Regions from separate parts of the Homo sapiens genome. Here all the other regions are linked to region 1. Evidence: promoter capture Hi-C in 16 types of primary human blood cells and fetal thymus (Javierre and others, 2016). All regions are on one chromosome and are shown on one strand. The core of a region is centred on a gene start or on the middle of the fragment in contact, and the rest is flanking DNA. Distances in the headings are between cores, read along the strand shown.

What was found. Contacts are between HindIII fragments. The CHiCAGO score rates a contact against its expected background, and 5 or more counts as called.
Region 2: the fragment with the promoter of TDRD9 here is called in contact with the fragment with the promoter of LINC02280 in region 1 in 4 of 17 cell types (M1 macrophages, naive CD8 T cells, erythroblasts and 1 more); the score reaches 7.9 in M1 macrophages.
Region 3: the fragment with the promoter of BTBD6 here is called in contact with the fragment with the promoter of LINC02280 in region 1 in 2 of 17 cell types (neutrophils and erythroblasts); the score reaches 9.8 in neutrophils.
Region 4: a contact is called between a fragment that was not itself captured here and the fragment with the promoter of LINC02280 in region 1, in 4 of 17 cell types (naive B cells, M0 macrophages, M1 macrophages and 1 more). The highest score is 7.1, in naive B cells.

Annotation. Positions count from the first base shown.
Region 1 is chr14:104,664,046-104,666,946 of GRCh38, forward strand. It overlaps LINC02280 (long intergenic non-protein coding RNA 2280), which reads right to left and starts at 1,513. Exons shown (of 2, transcript NR_135293.1): 1 at 688-1,513; 2 at 1-64. RefSeq lists an enhancer at 1,443-2,205. The HindIII fragment of the contact is 24,946 bases long and covers 1-2,901 here.
Region 2 is chr14:103,927,049-103,929,949 of GRCh38, forward strand. It overlaps TDRD9 (tudor domain containing 9), which reads left to right and starts at 1,408. Exons shown (of 36, transcript NM_153046.3): 1 at 1,408-1,676. The coding sequence starts at 1,462. The HindIII fragment of the contact is 2,314 bases long and covers 1,189-2,901 here.
Region 3 is chr14:105,247,065-105,249,965 of GRCh38, forward strand. BTBD6 (BTB domain containing 6) reads left to right here and starts at 1,469. Exons shown (of 4, transcript NM_001387567.1): 1 at 1,469-2,021; 2 at 2,093-2,183; 3 at 2,296-2,414; 4 at 2,576-2,901. The coding sequence starts at 1,648. All of the region lies in intron 5 of BRF1 (BRF1 general transcription factor IIIB subunit), which reads right to left. RefSeq lists enhancers at 1,095-1,885, 2,677-2,901 and silencers at 1,261-1,820, 2,021-2,070. The HindIII fragment of the contact is 26,340 bases long and covers 1-2,901 here.
Region 4 is chr14:104,087,401-104,090,301 of GRCh38, forward strand. All of the region lies in intron 1 of ASPG (asparaginase), which reads left to right. Among named protein-coding and RNA genes, the nearest start is that of ASPG, 3.2 kb to the left of the region's middle. The HindIII fragment of the contact is 178 bases long and covers 1,358-1,535 here.

The sequences.
Region 1 (2,901 bases), core at 263-2,762:
TCTAGTTTAGAAACCCGGCTACAGAGTTTACACCTGAGTGTGGTCATTACATCTTTGCCGTTTCCTGATTTTTAGAAAAAAAAAAAAAAAAAACCTGTGATCTGAACCAAGGTAATTGATCTCCCTCCCTTCCTACAGGTGTCCACGCCCTTGGGGAAGGTTATAGGGGTTGGATGTGCTTTTGACCCCAAGGGCTCCCTACGTAGCCCAGGCCAGCCTGGGGCTTGGAGGAGGGCGGGTGAGCTGATGAGAACCTCCTCCATGCTCAGCTTCCACCTGCTGGCATCTGTGTGCCCAGCACACAAAGCCTGGGCAACGGGCGACTCCTGTGAGCAGAGCTTCACCCTCTTCCCCTCTCACTACCCCCCACCCCACCTGCAGCCCCTCTCCTCCCTCCCCTTGGTTCGAGATGACCCCAACTCCCCCGGAGATTTCTACTGGGATCTGGTTTGGTTTTTGCTTTTTATGATCCCCTAAACCCATCTTCACCTCCCTGCTAGGGCTCCCCAGGTTGACTGGGGAGGACCCCACATTCCCCATGATTCCACGCAGCAAAAGGCACTTCTGGCAGGAACCCGCATCCCAGGGCAGGCCCTGGGGCACCTTGGGCTGGGGAAGACTGCGGCCCCAAAATCTCCACTCCCTGCGCTGCCATCTGAAACACCACCATGATGGATAATGTCTTACCTAGGGAGAAGGCACCTGTGCTGGAAAAGGAGACCCAAGAGACCCGCCTGGACCGTGTGGGTGAGACCATCGCACCCTCCTGCCGAGGGAGAAGGCACCTGTGCTGGCTAAAAGGGGTCCCAAGAGAACTGCCTGGACAGTGTGGGTGAGGCCATTGCACCCTCCTGCCGAGACGGTGGGCCCTGCTACAGAGCCTGATGCCCCTGAGGAGCTGGGACCACTGTCCTCCCAATACACATACACACACAAACACACACAGAGACACACACCGACACAAACACACAGACACACAGAAACACACACAAACACAGACACACACACAGACACACACAAACACACAGACACACACAAACCCACACACACACAAACACACAGATGCAAACACACACACACAGACACACACACACAGACACACAGAAACACACAGACACACACAAACCCACACACACACACAGATGCAAACACACACAGACACACAAACACACACAGACACACAAACACAAACACACACACACACAGACACACAAACACACAGATGCAAACACACACACAAACACACAGACACACAAACACACAGACACACACACAAACACACAGACACAAGACACACACACAGACACACAGACACACAGACACACAGACACACAGACACAGACAACACACACAAACACAGACACACACATACACACACACAAACACACAGACACACACAAACACACACAGACACACACAGCACACAGACACACACACAAACACACACACACCCTTCACAACCTTCCTGGGCTCTTAGCATTTTCTGTGGGGCTGTCAAGGCAGGAAGATCCAGGAGGGACCCCAGGGCGGGGAGAGACAAACTCTCCCAGCTCAGGAAGGCAGTGTGCTTTCGCCTAAATAACTGAGTGAGCTCACACTAACAGGAAGTGTTTTGATTTTGCAGTCTGAGAGTTAATCCCGTCGCTGGCCAGACATGTTTGCTTTTAGGTTCTCTGGTGGCCCACAGGTCCCAGTTCTGAATGGAAACATCCCGAGGCGGCCCCTCCCCTCCTCAAACTGCACCCTCCCCGGGCATGGCGCTGCCTGCAGGCTGTAGAGAGGGCCTGGGCTTTTTCACACCTTGGGGAGGTGTAGACCAGGGAAAGGAAGAGGAGAAGGATGTGGGCAACCCTCCACCACCAGGGAGCTCCACCACCACTCCGCAGGCCCTGGCGTGGCACCGTCCCCGAGGGCTGGCACCGGGCTGGTGGCAGGCCTCAGCATCAGAGGGTGGCTGAGTCGCACACACCGCCCCTACCCCTCTTCCCGAGACTGAGCCCCTCTCTCTAGCCCCAGAGCAGGAGTCACCCCCAGCCCCACCAGCCACTGCCCATGAAGCTGGTTGGAATTGCCCTCAGCGGCCACAGAGGCCCCAGCGGGGTCCCCAGCCAGGCCGACATGCACTAGCAGCTCAGAAAGAAAGGCCTTGTGTCCAGTGACCTCCCCCAACCTCGGAATGTGGCCGTTCTCTCCTCCCATCCCTACAGTAGGGCTGAGGCTGTCCCGAGTACAAAGGCCTTTTGTCCCCACAACCAGCCCCCACCCGCCGAGGTGACACTGGAGCTGGGAGAGTGGCAGCCTCCATGGCGGCCACAGTGGCTCCCAGCTCCCCTGCAGCAGGGCCTCCCTCCTCCCCCAGGGCCGGGCAGAGGGCACCTGCAGGGCATCTTCCCCGGCACCCCCTGGCTGCAGAGCACCCTGGTGAGAACGATCTAATCGGAGAGCCCAGGCTTATACACAGCTTCTCTCTGCCAGCTGAGAATTTACGTTTCTGATTAACTTGTGTTACCCACAATACACTGTAGACTACAGAAGGCCAGGACCCTCTGAGGTGGTGCAGTGCCCCCAGTCTTGTTCTGGGTGAGGGCTCCACGGACCTCTTTATTTGTCAAAACTCATACACTTTAGTTCTATGCATTTTACTCTGGGTAAACTGTATCTCAGGCCAGGCGCGGTGACTCATGCCTGTAATCCCAGCACTTTGGGAGGCCAAGGTGGGTGGATCATTTGAGGTCAGGAGTTCGAGACCAGCCTGGCCAAAATGGTGAAACCCGTCTCTACTAAAAATACAAAAATTAGCCGGGTGTGGTGGCAGGCACCTGTAGTCCCAGCTACTCAGGAGGTTGAGGCAGGAGAATCGCTTGAACCCGGGAGGTGGAGGTTGCAGTGAGTCAAGATTGT
Region 2 (2,901 bases), core at 158-2,657, 740 kb before region 1:
GAGGTTGTGGTGGGAGCATCACCTGAGCCCCCGAAGTTGAGGCTGCAGTGAGCCCTGATTGCAGCACGGCACTCCAGCCTCAGCGACAGGAGTGAGACCCTGCCTCAAAAGAAAAAAGAAAAGCAAGTTATTTCTTCCTGGCAAAGTGTGTTGAGGCACTTTTGGGAACCTGTCGTATTTGGCAGAGTCCTAATATGAGGTCTAGAGCTCATTATGCCAGGATTTGGAGCCAGAACTCCTGGCTTAGTATGATTATGGGTTCAATTTTTGAGACACCAATAGCTCAACCTACCTGCCTGATTTCTGTCTACAGTGTTTTCAAACCGCCCTCTTATTTGCCACTGCTTGGGCTTTACACTGCTGATTAGAGCCATGCTCTCGATACCGTCTCTGTATTTGTTCACATGGCTCTTTCCTGAGAGCCCACATGGGCCAGATAGATCCTGCCCTGGCCAGTGAGGGGGACACACCCCAGGCAGGTGGCCATGTCTCTCTTCTGACCCTCCCTTCCCTTGCACACGTGGCTGCCTTCCCGTGCATCCTTTGTTGATTTCTTCCCGCGGCTCCTTCTTTTGGGGAGTTTGCTAGGGCTCTGTTCTCCACCCTCACTCTTCTAGAGCTCGGCCGGGACCACCTCAGCCTGTATCTTTGGTCCATGTGATCGCCTGGACCTCCTGTCCGCACCTGTTTGTGTCCAGCTGTGAGTCTGACACCGCCGCCTGAGACACCGGTTTAGGAAGGAAGATGAATTCAGTTATGATCCGGCTGCAAAGAACTTCTCCCAGATCCTCACCTCAGCCATCAGGGCCGCCTGCCCTCCCCTATAACCCTGGGTGGTCCTCCGTCTGGCGCATTCCCCCGTATCCTGCAGGGGTCTGCCTGGCGTTACTTTCTCCGAGACCTTCCTGACCTTCTTCTTGCCCCTCTCCCCCCATATTAGGTGCAAGGATGTCCTGGTACGTCTGACCCACGAACGCAAATCCCTTCTCTGGTTTGCCTTCCATCTCCTCACCCTGAGGTGCTCAAGAAACGTATGTAGGGTCCCGGTCCGCTCAAAGCGCACAAACCTCCGAGGCAGCAGCCTCTAAATAGAGAGGCCAGGGAGTGACCGGAGGGCATTTTCTTGTACACACAGGGGTTGCCACGGAACTCCCGTGAAACAGACTCCCGGGCCAGCCGCGGCGCTCAAGCTTCCCCTGAGGTCCTAGAAAGGCTCACCCTGGGCTCGCTCGGGGCGGCGGCTCCCGGCAGGCCTAGCGCGGCGGGGCGGGGCCGGCGGCACGAGGACCAGGCAGCGCGGGCAGCACGCGCCCGGGCCGGAGCCCGCCCACAAGGGCGCGCGGCGCGTTCTGATTGGAAGGCCTCGAGCGGGGGCGGGGCTTCCAGGGTGCGCTTCCGCCGTCGCCTGTTCCCGCCGCGGAGACCCGGCAGTTGGGGGATGCCGACGCCTGGGCCTTGAGGATGCTGCGGAAGCTCACCATCGAGCAGATCAACGACTGGTTCACCATCGGCAAGACGGTGACCAATGTGGAGCTGCTGGGCGCGCCGCCCGCCTTCCCGGCAGGGGCGGCCAGGGAGGAGGTGCAGCGCCAGGACGTGGCCCCCGGCGCTGGTCCCGCGGCCCAGGCTCCGGCTCTGGCCCAAGCTCCGGCCCGGCCGGCCGCTGCGTTCGAAAGGTAGGACGCGGGCGGGGCGGAGGCGGCTGGAGGGCGGCCGGGCGAGGCCTGGCGACGAGGGCACGGGCCATCCAGATCCTTCTCGCGAGCCCGTGCCCTCTCGCGGGGCTCCAGGGACCCCTGACCGTCCAGGGCGAGTGGTCACTACACAACCCGACGCGCGGCCCAGAGCGGTGCCTGTAAGGAAGCTGAGCTAGAGGTTTTTTTTTTTTTTTTTTTTTCAGTTCTTAATGTTTAACAGACTAGTTTTTGAGGCACTCAGGTTTTCAGGATAACGGAGCGGAGGGCAGAGGTCCCATAGGCCCCTTCCCTCCCAGAGTTTCCCCTGTGAGCATCTGCGTAAGGTGTGGGTATTTGTGACAGTCGGCGAACCTGCATCGCTGCGTCTTCGTCACCCGGAGGCCATCGTTACAGGAGGGTTCACGCCTCGTACTGGACGTTCTGTGGGTTTGGACAAACGCCTAACGTCACGCATTACAGAGTTCACTGACCTACAGATCTTCTCGGCCCCACTGTTCCTGCCTCCCTTTCCCTACACCACGTGGAAACCACTGATTTTTTTACTGTCTCCATAATTTTGCTTTTCCATACTGTCATCTAGTTGGAATCACACAGTATGTGTAGCCTTTTTGATGGGTTTCTGTCACTTAGTATTAGTATGCATTTGGGGGTTCCTCCATGCCTTTCCATGGTTTGATAGCTTCTTTCCTTTTAGCACTGATTAATATTCCACTGTCTGGATGTACCACAGTTTATCTCCATTCACCTACTGAAGGAGAGCTTGGTTGCTTCCAAGTTCTCCCCCCACCCCCCGAGATGGAGTCTCACTTTGTTACCCAGGCTGGAGTGGAGTGGCGCCATCTCGCCTCACTGCAATCTCCCCCTCCTAGGTTCAAGCGATTCTCCTGCCTCAGCCTCCCGAGTAGCTGAGGCTACAGGCATATGCCACCACGCCTGGCTAATTTTTGTATTTTTAATAGAGACAGGGTTTCACCATGTTGGCCAGGCTAGTCTAGAACTCCTGACCTCAGGTGATCTGCCCACCTCAGCCTCCCAAAGTGCTGGGATTACAGGCGTGAGCCACTGCGCCCGGCCTGCTTCCAAGTTTTGGCAAGGTTTTTGTGTGGACATAAGTTTTCAACTCATTGGGTAAATACCAAGGAGTGCAAATGCTGAATCTTTGTTAAGTTTCACAGACTCCCTCCTCATCTCACTATTCTTTAAG
Region 3 (2,901 bases), core at 219-2,718, 580 kb after region 1:
CGTTACCTTTTTCTATGGAAACAGACGGCTGGGACAGAAACCACGGCCACAGCAGCCAGCGTGTCTTTGCCAGTGGGGTCCCACACTATGAAATCGCAGCTGTGGCCTCGGTGGGTGTGTCCTTGGCGGGTGCATCCACACACTTTCTCTCGGAACTTTCCGGACTCTCATGCATATGCTACAGCTTTCCAAACGGCTTGGCCGTGCGGAGTTACGCACCCACCTGCAGCAGGTGATCTCCAGCTGCTCTGCATTCCACCAACACTACGTGACAAGTCTCAAGTTCAGCCGCCTGGGGGCTCGGGCACCCCATTCCTGGGAGAAATGATGATTTGTGCACTCTGGGCCATTGCATGGTGTCTGTTCACGTCCTTTGCCCGTTTTTTAAAAAACTGGGTTGTCAGCCTTTTCCTTCCTGACTTGTAGTTGCTCCTCCATCCTGGAGAGTCCTTTGTTGAAAATACCGCAAATATCTTCTGAAGAGGACTCTCCCAGGGAACATTCACTACAACTGTAACGACCACAGAGACACAGAGCTCCTGTTCACTGTTTAGCCCAGGACTGCGGTGACAGGTGCACCCATGACCCGAGATGCTGGCTGCGTCCTGTGGGGTTTCCTGCATATGGAAGTTTTAAAAGTCTAAAGCCTGGCGGTCCAGGAGGTTGCGTGTGTGTCCTCGGGGAGGAACCCTCCTGACAGCCAGGCCTCTGGAGCTTCGTCTGCACGCGAGCTTGGCATGCACCAGCTGTGCGGCCCAGGCCAGGTGACACGGCCTCTGAAGTCTGGTCTCCTCATCAGCAAAGCCAGTGCCCCATGCCACGCACCTCCCAGGATTAGCCCCAGGCCGGGAGGCTAGAGGCCCCACAAGGAGCGAGCCTGCGACTGCGATCCACAGGCAGAGCCACAGAGGCAGGGCGCGCCCTGGGGCCCAAGCTCCAGGGCTGCAGGCCCAGGGCCAGATCCTGACTTGCCCACCCGCCGGCTGTGTGACCTTCAGCGCGCGACTAACCTCTCTGTGCCTATTTCCTCGAGGAAAATGCCGGGAAATAGCAGCGCCTGCCCCTGTAAAGCCCTCAGAGCAGAGTGGACCGCGCTCTCTGCAAGCGCTGGCTGCTGGCGTCCGTAGCAAGCTAAATCGCGAAGCATCTGAACGAACGAGGAAGCCCAACGACCATCCCACAGGCCGCGGCCAGAGGCAGACTCCGGAATGCAAATGGCCAAACAAGCAGGTCCACCTGCGTTCCTAACCAAAAGATCGCTAACTGAAGAACGGGCGCAAGCACCTGCGCATGGCACTGCGGGTCTGGGGGCGGCCGCCTGCCAGCGCCGGGAGCCGCCTTCCACGGCTACCTCTGCACAGCGCGCGGCTCGCGCCGGTTGCTGGGCAGAAGCTCGAGCAGCTTCGAGGATGTCGGGCCTGGGGGCGGGGCCGCGAGGCAGCGACGTCGCGCGGGGCGCGGCCCTGACGCAGCGTGACGCACCGGCGCCGCGGCGGGTACGGGCTCGGGCGGGCGGGCGGGCGGGACGGCGCCCCCCGCGGCCGGGCCTGGCCGGGCTGCGCTAGGCTGGGCTCGGGCAGGGTCGCAGGGGCGGGGGTGGCAGGGGAGCGGGTGGCAGCCCCGCGGGTCACAGCGCCGCCGCCGCCCATGCTGCTGCCCCTAGCCTGCCTGCACGGCCGCGTCGCTCAGTGCCTGACCTCCTTGCTTTTGCTTGCAGAGCCGCTCCCGAGGCCCCGGCGCGGCGCGAGGGCGCGGGGCGCGGCGTCCACAGGCGCCGAGGCTGCCCCCGCCGCCCCGCCCGCGAAGATGGCGGCGGAACTCTACGCTCCCGCCAGCGCCGCGGCCGCGGACCTAGCCAACAGCAACGCCGGCGCCGCCGTGGGCAGGAAGGCCGGGCCGCGCAGCCCGCCCAGCGCCCCCGCGCCAGCGCCGCCGCCGCCCGCGCCCGCGCCGCCCACACTCGGCAACAACCACCAGGAGAGCCCCGGCTGGCGGTGCTGCCGCCCCACGCTGCGCGAGAGGTGAGCCCGTGCCCCGCGGCCCCCGCGCCCGCGCGCGCCCACGCCCCCAGCCCGTGCCTCTACCTTTGCAGGAACGCGCTCATGTTCAACAACGAGCTCATGGCCGACGTGCACTTCGTCGTGGGGCCCCCGGGGGCGACCAGGACGGTGCCCGCCCACAAGGTGGGTAGCGGCGGCCCCTCTCGGAACGCGTGCCCCGTCCGCCCCGTCCGCCGTGTGGCTGACACGCAGCCTGCGGGAGAGCCAGGCTCACGGCGGCGCTTTCTCCTCCCAGTACGTCTTGGCTGTCGGCAGCTCCGTCTTCTATGCCATGTTCTACGGAGACCTGGCGGAAGTCAAATCTGAAATTCACATTCCAGACGTGGAGCCCGCAGCCTTTCTGATCCTCTTAAAGTAAGTCCACTCTACTGGGGAGGGACGGGTGGGTCCGTTTTAGGCGGCCTCCGGAGGCTTCTGAAGGGAAGCACACAGGAGCTGATGGACTCCTCTCCCAGGCCCAGCCCCGCGATGGGTGCTTGGGAGCCAGCCCCTGACGCGGGCCCTGCCTCGCCTAGGTACATGTACAGTGATGAGATCGATCTGGAAGCCGACACGGTGCTGGCCACTCTGTACGCTGCTAAGAAGTACATCGTCCCAGCATTGGCAAAAGCCTGTGTCAACTTTCTGGAGACAAGTTTGGAAGCCAAGAACGCCTGCGTCCTGCTGTCCCAGAGCCGGCTGTTTGAGGAGCCCGAGCTGACGCAGCGCTGCTGGGAGGTCATTGACGCACAGGCCGAGATGGCCCTACGGTCCGAAGGCTTCTGTGAGATAGACCGGCAGACGCTGGAGATCATTGTCACTCGGGAGGCCCTCAACACCAAAGAGGCGGTGGTCTTCGAGG
Region 4 (2,901 bases), core at 197-2,696, 580 kb before region 1:
CCAGGGCCCTGTAGGGGCTGTGGGCTGATAACAGGGTCTGAGCTGGGTGTGTGGATGGTGTGGAGTTTGGAGGCAGCCCAGGGAGGGCTTCTCTGAGGACACAAGGCCTGCAGGACAAAGATGGGAGAGGGCCAGGCCAGGAGCAGCCCTGCAAGGTGCAGGAAAGAGGAGTGGGGAGCCCAGCAGGGCCGGAGCCTGCCAGAGCTGCCCCCGAGTGGGGACAGGACCTGGGGACTCTGTGTGGGGCCTCGTCCGACGCCCCTGACGCTACCCCTTCAGGCTTGGAGTGTGGCCAACTGCAGTTTCGTTGAGCTCAACATGTAGTTCTTGAGTGGTCCGAGCTGCAGGGGCAGGTGGACTCTGTAACCCCACCACACACCCGTCTCGCTTGGCCCCCGCGTGCTCGCCGCAGCAGCCTGTGGGTGCACTCACACGCGTGCACCGCATTTCTGAAAGAGGCTGTGAGGTCCTGTGTCTGGGTGGGAAACAAGAGACTTGGAGGCTGGAAATTGGGTGTGGGGCGTCAGTCTTCAGACCTGAAGCAGCCTTCTGAGATCCCTTGGTGCTCTGTGCACTGGGGTCCTGGCTTCTGCTCAGCAGCCCGTCCTCGTGTGGCTGCGAGGTCACCCCCAGCTGTTGCTAGCTGACCCATGTGGGGCATCCACTTCCAGGAACCTGCAGGAATGGGCTCCCCCAACCCCTCGTGAGGTTGGAGCAGCCAGACTGTCAGGCGTCAATGATTTACTCCCTCCACACTGCTGACGTGGGCTCTGGCCTTCCCTGGGGAGGTGAGAGGGGAGTGGTGGCTTTGCCCTAGTAAAGCTGTTTGATTGTCGCTGTTGGAACGGCTTCTGCGCCTGCTGGTAAACAGTGACCTGTGGGTGGAACGCTGCACACCTGGAGCCCTGCCAGAGTTCAGGGAGGGCAGAGGTGATGCCAGTGGGGACGCCCCTTGACCCATCCCTTCTCTGAGTTCATTGAAGCTATCACAGGTCAAGGGGCATAGCGAATCCAAACACGGCTGATAACCCCAAGCCCAAGCTGGCATCAGTGGCCACGTTCTGTACACCCGAGAAACTTGAAGACTTCCTATGTCAAACTGGGAACCCCACCTGCTTGCCGGCCTGTCCCAAAGTCCCTCCTGAGCCCGGCTCCTTGCAGGCACAGCAGGGAGGGCAGAGATCTGGGGCCAGGCAGCTGAGAGAAGCTCCCTGCCCGGTGACCACACGGGTCCCAGCAGTCGAGAGTGTCAGTGGAGTGATGCCCATGGCTTCTTGGTTACTGCAGTGGCGTCTGTGCCCTTGGCCTGGACCTCCTTCCTGAATGGGTGCTACACGTTCACAAGTTTCTAAGCCTAAGCTTGACTTCGCTGGTGACAGTGGGGCCCATTGTCTTAGAGAGCAAAGCCTCCTTTCCAGGTGTTTGGCAGGGGGCTGAGGAGTTTCCAAGTCACCAGCAAACTCAGGCACCTGCCTGGATGGGCCAAGGAAGAGGTTCCAGGCAGGGCTGGAGGGTTCAGATTCTGCAGCCCTTGAAGCTTTTGGAGGGCCCTCATTGAGAAAAGTAATACAAGTTACAAAATCATAGTTAGGTGTGAAAGCCGGTGTTTGTTTATTTTTTATTTATTTTTATTTTTTTGAGATGGAGTCTCACTCTGTCGCCCAGACTGGAGTGCAGTGGCGCGATCTCAGCTCACTGCAAGCTCTGCCTCCCGGGTTCACACCATTCTCCTGCCTCAGCCTCCCGAGTAGCTGGGACTACAGGCGCCCGCCACCGTGCCCGGCTGAAAGCTGGTGTTTATTTAAAATAACAAAAGAAATTGCCCCAGCTGACTGGGCGCGGTGGCTCACACCTGTAATCCCAGCACTTTGGGAGGCTGAGGTGGGTGGATCACTTGAGATCGGGAGTTCAAGACCAGCCATGGACAACATGGTGAAACCCTGTCTCTACTAAAAATACAAAAAAAAAATTAGCCAGATGTGGTGGCAGATGCCTGTGGTCCCAGCTACTGGGGAGGCTGAGGCATGAGAATCGCTTGAACCCAGGAGGTGGAGGTTGCAGTGAGCCGAGATCTCGCCACTGCACTCCAGCCTGAGTGACAGAGTGAGACCCTGTCTCAAACAAACAAAAAAAACTGATGCCACTACATACCTGTTAGAATGGCTGCTGACGTACAACACATTGACTGCGGGGTGAGTGCTGGAGCCCCAGAGTTGGAAAGTGGTCCACTCGCAGGTTGGTAAGAAAACTTTACTGGCGACAGTATAGGTTTGAAAAAGGAACGTTTGGCCAGACATGGTGGCTCAGGCCTGTAATTCCAACACTTTGGGAGGCCAAGGCGGGTGGTTCACTTGCCTTGCTAACATGGCGAAACCCCGTCTCTACTAAAAATAAAAAATTAGCTAGGTGTGGTGGTGCATGCCTGTAATCCCGGCTACTCGGGAGGCTAAGGCAGGAGAATTGCTTGAGCCGGGTGGGTGGAGGTTGCAGTGAGTCGAGATGGCATCACTGTACTCCAGCCTGGGCAACAGAGTGAGACTCTGCCTCAAAAAAAAAAAAAAAAAAAAAAAAAAAGGAAGAAAGGAGAAGAAAAAGAAAAAAGAAAGAAATTGGCCAGGCTGGTTTTGAACTCCTGGGCTCAAATGATCTTCCTGCATCAGCCTCCCAAAATTCTGGGATTACAGGTGTGAGCCATAAAAACCACTGCAAAAGCACATATGGAGTGTTTTGCTTGAGAGAAGAGGACACCAAGAGAGTTTAGTCTTGTCTTTGGCTGATTTCGCCTGTGGTGCCCACACATGCCCCCAGCAGGGACAGCAGGGCCCATATCCACGCCTACCACTCTGCAGCATTCCTGGAAGTTTCTGGAAGCTGTTCCCCCACATGAGTCAGCAGCAGCTG